2 separate regions of the Homo sapiens genome follow, and region 2 is linked to region 1. The links are contacts of gene promoters, found by promoter capture Hi-C in blood cells and fetal thymus (Javierre and others, 2016). All regions are on one chromosome and are shown on one strand. The core of a region is centred on a gene start or on the middle of the fragment in contact, and the rest is flanking DNA. Distances in the headings are between cores, read along the strand shown.

Evidence for each region. Contacts are between HindIII fragments. The CHiCAGO score rates a contact against its expected background, and 5 or more counts as called.
Region 2: a fragment that was not itself captured here is called in contact with the fragment with the promoter of DEF6 in region 1 in 2 of 17 cell types (total CD8 T cells and total CD4 T cells); the score reaches 6.2 in total CD8 T cells.

The regions. Positions count from the first base shown.
Region 1 is chr6:35,296,352-35,299,155 of GRCh38, forward strand. DEF6 (DEF6 guanine nucleotide exchange factor) reads left to right here and starts at 1,467. Exons shown (of 11, transcript NM_022047.4): 1 at 1,467-1,601. The coding sequence starts at 1,506. The HindIII fragment of the contact is 28,623 bases long and covers 1-2,804 here.
Region 2 is chr6:35,738,183-35,740,986 of GRCh38, forward strand. ARMC12 (armadillo repeat containing 12) reads left to right here. Exons shown (of 6, transcript NM_001286574.2): 3 at 202-336. Among named protein-coding and RNA genes, the nearest start is that of ARMC12, 2.6 kb to the left of the region's middle. RefSeq lists enhancers at 1-347, 956-1,564, 1,565-2,172. The HindIII fragment of the contact is 2,315 bases long and covers 297-2,611 here.

The sequences.
Region 1 (2,804 bases), core at 217-2,716:
CAGTCAGCTTCTCCAAGAGGGCAAAGCCCCAGGTTAGAGTGAGGCTGGGGGACACCTTTGCCAAGGTTACTGAGATTCAAGGAGCAGAGTCTGATGCCTCTGGAGCTGAAGTCTTGGCTCTATTACCCAGCTCTGGGGGTGCCCACCTAGGTGCCTAGGACTGTGCTGTGGGATTTCAAAGCCACAATCAGACCCCACTGAAAAGTGAGTTGGTGAGACCAGATCAGCTCCAGGGGGAAGAAGGGATACAGGGGAAGGCACTTGATGGGAAGAAGCTCTGGGTTTGACTCTGCCTACACAGGAACATTGCAGGGATTGGTGGTGCCTCTTTTCCTCTCTCTGCTGTGATGGATATGCCCCAACCCCTTCCTGCCTCCTAGGATTGGAACCCCCTCCTCTGATCCAGGCATCCTCTCCCAGGATGCCTAGAAAGCTCCCATTTACTCTTGCCACCAGCTCCTTGGGAAGAGAGGGGCGGGGGCGTGCTTCCAGGCAGGAGGTATTCCCAGCACCTTACTTGGAGGGATTTTTATTTGGCTTAGGGGGTAGGGGGAGGTGTCTTAGAATTGGCCTGAGCAGATGTCTTCAACATCTGTGACCACCATTCCTGGTGTGGGCGTGTCCCAGTCCTTTTGGACACTGGATCTGAAGAAAGGAAGCACTGACATGGAGGGCCCTGAATCCCAAGCCTGCTGCTGCTGGGACCCTTAAAGTTGAGGTGCACCACAAGGCTCACCCCCATGTGTTTCAGGAAGTTTCCAGTGTCTTCAGGGCTACTGGGGCTAGAGTGGGCAGTGCTCTGAGTACCGTTTAGAGCCAGTGCTGAGGGGATAGGGAGCCAGCAAGTCAAGTGCCACATCCTGACCTGGAGAGGTGCCCTGGCCCATTTCCTTCTCCAGCTTTGTGATGTTGCCTTTGTTTCCTTCCACTTGGATGGAGTCCCACCACCATGGTAATGTTAAGTAGCACCAAAAGCTCTACCCAGAGCCTACTATGTGCTTTACGTCCATTCTCAGACATTCTTACAACACGGAGGCATTTTTCCTGCTTTACAAATGAGGAAACTGCTCAAGGAGGTTAAGTAACTTACCCAAGGCCTCCTATGTTGAACTAGGACTGGACCTTTACTCTGTCTGACCCCAATATCAGGATGAGCTTGCTTTTTCCCTCAGCAAGCTGCGTCTGGGAGCCCTGGAAGGCTCCAGAAGCCTCCGGGTCTGAGGAGGCTTCTAAAAGGGCCTCACATGCCCCGGGAGCCACGTGGATACAGAACGAGGGTTCCCGCTCTCGGAGAGTTGGTCCCCAGTTCCCATGCAGGGAGTGGAGCCTCTGAGCACTGCCAGAACAACAGGCAGGGTTCTCGACAGCACAGAGCCTCACGCAATGTGCAGGCAGGTGGTGCTCTCGCTCCACCACGGCACCTCTGCGGTCTCTGCAGCCGTTTGCATTTCCTGAAACCGGATCTTAGTGTCAGAGCCGCCCCCAGCCGGGCGGGCGCCTCAGCCATGGCCCTGCGCAAGGAACTGCTCAAGTCCATCTGGTACGCCTTTACCGCGCTGGACGTGGAGAAGAGTGGCAAAGTCTCCAAGTCCCAGCTCAAGGTGAGGGGCACCCGGGACCCGGGGGAGGACGGCAGATGCACCACACCAGCCCCTGCCGCCTGGGAGCCAGGTGTGGACACTGTGCCACTCCAGGGGCACCCAGCCATCCAGCGTCCCGGGCCTGGGGTCGGGGGGCTGGTCCTGGGTAACTGGGCCAACGTAGCCTGGTAGATGCCGCTGCCCACCCTCCAGAGACCTAGTGAAGTGTGTGCAGAAACCTTGCGCAGAACTGGGCCCCACAACTGGAGGCCAGGAGGTTCTGAGGGCCATTATGGGGTTCTGAGGGCCAGGAGCCAGGCCACATCCCAGACTCTGTGTGATGAGCACACACACCTCCACAGAGTCATGCTTGGGCACGCAGTGTGCTCTTTCTTGCTGCTTCCTCCTGACTTTCAAGAGAAACAGTTAGCCAGTGCTTGGCAGTCATTTCCTCTGGAGCTGAGAGAGGCATAAAGGGGCCGCCCCCAGTCCCAAACCTGTCTGGCCTGTCTAACCCTGCCCGCCAGGTGGGACAGAGCTGCGGAGTGGGTGAGGACTGAGGACCCTATTATACTGCTACGCAGCTCACCCCCCTATCCACCACACATATCAGGTTGGGAAACTTACCTTAGGCCTTGAGACCTCAGGTAGGGAAGGGGGAGAATCTAAGCCCAGGAAAATCCCAATCAATGATTGTCCTGAAGTCAATCATCTGGCCTAGACAATTTCTGGGAGGCCAAGGAGTTTTTCTCTCTCTTCCTCTAGTCCTCCAGTAGTGCTGCCTTCCCTACCCTAGTTAGTGGGGAGGAAGCAAGGCCCTCAGCCACTAGAATCAGCGAACACTGGGGGAAAGGAGCAAGGTAGGCCTCAGCTCTCTAGGACCTGCCATAGGGGTGCCTTCGTTCACTCTGCAAGTACTTGAGTGCCCCTCGTGAGGCTCTGTGCCTGGCATGTGGCTAGGCACTAAACTGGTGTCTCCCTGCCCCATCCTCCAAAGGAGACGTGTGGTCTCAAGGAAACCTCCATTCTTAATGACCGAGGTAGAGGGTGCTGGATACCTGAGAGATGAATGGGACAGAACAGTTATTGTGCCCCACCACCGTTCCAACCCCCTACTTTACTGAACTTGGATGTGAGGAACTTGAATATCCCAAACTGGTCCTATGTTAAATTCCTTACCTGGATTTGTGAGCATCTAATAGATGATTTCACTCCCCCAGGAAG
Region 2 (2,804 bases), core at 204-2,703, 440 kb after region 1:
CAGGAGGTCCCCCCTAGCCGGCCTGGCCCCTGGGGGTTACGGCCGATCCCTGCCCCTGGAATGGCCAGACTATATCCTGGGACCTCTCTCTGGCTGATAGCGGTGGGGGGGGGGTGTGCGGAGGGATCTTGGTGACATGGGGGGCAGTGGGCCCAGAACACCCGCTTCTCCTGCCTCTTCCATCTCTCCCCAATACTCCAGGCCTCTGCTTGTACTACGGATGACATCGTGTTGCTGGGCTACATGCTGGATGACAAGGACAACAGTGTCAAAACCCAAGCTCTGAATACACTTAAAGCTTTCTCTGGCATCAGAAAATTCAGGCTCAAAATCCAGGTGAGCCCAGGGATGCGTGGTGGGGCATGCAGGATGTCTATAGTCCTTAAGTCCTTTAATTGCCATAGGATAAATGGTCATGTTCCAGAAGTTTGTTTGGGTGTGAATTTGTAACCCAGAAATAAGTGGGAAAACGGTGGTCAGATTCCCAGCAGGGTCATGAAGGCCTTTGAATTTCAGGATGAAACTGAATTGAGGCACTAGTGGTATCTCTCAACCCCAAAGAGAAGGACCCCCACTACCCCACAAGCTCCCTACCACTGCCACGTTTTTTCTGACACCAATTCCCAACACTGGCTGGGTGTTCAACAATTCAATTCAGTTCAGACACTATCCATAGTTAGGGCAGACTTCACAGGTTAAGGGCTGAGTCCCCCAAGACTTCCCCCCGACTTCAGGTACCAATCATAGGTCTGACTTCTGACTGGCCCGCTATGAATTCGGGGGTTCCCACAACTCCCTTTTTAGATCTACTAATTTGCTAGAATGGCTCCCAGAACTCAGGAAAGGACTTTACTTACTATTACTGGTTTTTTATATAAAGGACACAACTCAGGAACAGCTAAACGGAGGAGACACATAGGGCAGGGTGTCAGGGCGCGGAGCTTCCAGGCCTGTTCCTGGACCAAACTGAGGGCTGGGCTGCTATTGCTCCTGGCCCAATAACGAGATGCAGATGAACTGGGGAGGAAGAGAGTTTTTATTTCTGTAACCGGTTACAGGGAGAAGGCCAGGAAATTATCGCTGGACCAACTCAAAATTACAAAGTTTTTCAGAACTTATATACCTTCTAAGCTATATGTCTATGTGTAAATGTGCATTCATCTAAAGACGTGATTAACTTCTTTTAATTTATAACTAAGGTCTGAGTCCTGAAGACCTTCCACTGGAGCCTCAGTAAATTTACTTAATCTAAATGGGTCCAGGTGCTGGGGTGATTACCCTTATTTTGTCTCTTGCTAAATCAAGGAGTTTTGAGGAATTCCTTCAGATCCCAATAAACTTGTTTGTGGAGACCTGTGGCGTTTCTTCAGATCCACAGTAAAACTTGTTTAATCCTAAATGGGTCCCATTAAGAATTCCTTCGTAATTTTGTCATGCTTTAAGGCCCAGGAAAGGCCTAGGCAAAACTCCTGGTGGGCTTTTGTTACATTCCAGCCTTTGTATAAGGGCACTGGCTTTTAACATTTAACTTAACCACGCAGTCAGTACTGAAACAGTTGTTATGGAGGCCTGCCACAAGCTCACTTCAGGAGTGCCCTGCTGTTCCCAGCACCTCCACACGTTCAGCAACCAGGAAGCTCTTTGAACCCCATTGGTCAGAGGTTTTTATTATGTAGTCTTGATGAATTAAATCATGTCCAGCTGCTCACCCCTCCCCAGAAGTTGGGAGCAAAACTGAAAATCCCAACCTTCTAATCATGCTTTGGTCTTTCTGGCAACCAGAAGCTATCCAAGGACCCTGCCTGGAGTCACTTCATTAGCATAAGCTCTGTTGTGACCAAAAAGGGTTGGTTTGCAGTAACAAAGGACACTGCTGTCACTCAGGAAATTCCAAAGGTTTCAGGAGCTCTGTTCCTGGAACTAGGGACAAAGATCAGATGTATTTTTTATACTCTATCCCCTGGGCCTGTGTTAATCAGAGGTTGGTGTCATGGCCACGGATAACTTCTCCATTACTCCATAGACAAAATGTAAAACACCACATGTCACTTCCCCCTTTCCCTGCTATCATACCCCCAAACTTACAGTATCCACACCCATCCTCCCTGCTTTCCTGCTGCTGCCATGAAAAAAATGGCTTTCTCCTGGTCTGTGGCCAGTGATAGTCTCAATCCTGCCTCCCACCCCTTCCTTAAGGGCCTCTCTGATTGCTTACGCTCCGCTCCCCCATCAGCATGCAGTAGGCTCCAACCCCTCCCATCTTACAAAGCAAAACCAAAAAAGCCTCTCCCTTGACCTCCACATCTCTTCCTGGCAAATAGTCTATCTCTCCCAAATTAAAAACAAATAAAATATGTAAAACTTGCAAATATTGTATATGTGTAAGTTAGAAGGAATAACAATAAAACAGAACATGCCCAGGCCAAGAAATAGAGCACAGCCCCCTCCCACATCTTGGCTGCCTCCCCCACCAGAGGCAGTCATTACCCTGCATTTTGTTTAGCAGTTCCAAATTTTCTTTGTAGTTTTACCATATATGTATGTATCCTTGCATATTCTAGCAGGGCATAGCAGATAATAAAGAGGTAAAATATAGTCTGGTATGTTTTTAAGCTTCATGTACATGGAAGTAGATGGTTTCTATTCTGTGGTTGGCCTTTTCTCCCTGCTACGTGGAGAGATTCATCCTTATTGGGCAGCTCTGCTTCCTTCTGGTTTTTTTTTTTTTTTTTTTTGAGACAGGGTCTCGTTCTGTCGCCCAGGCTGGAGTGCAGTGGCGTGATCTTGGCTCACTGCAGCCTTGA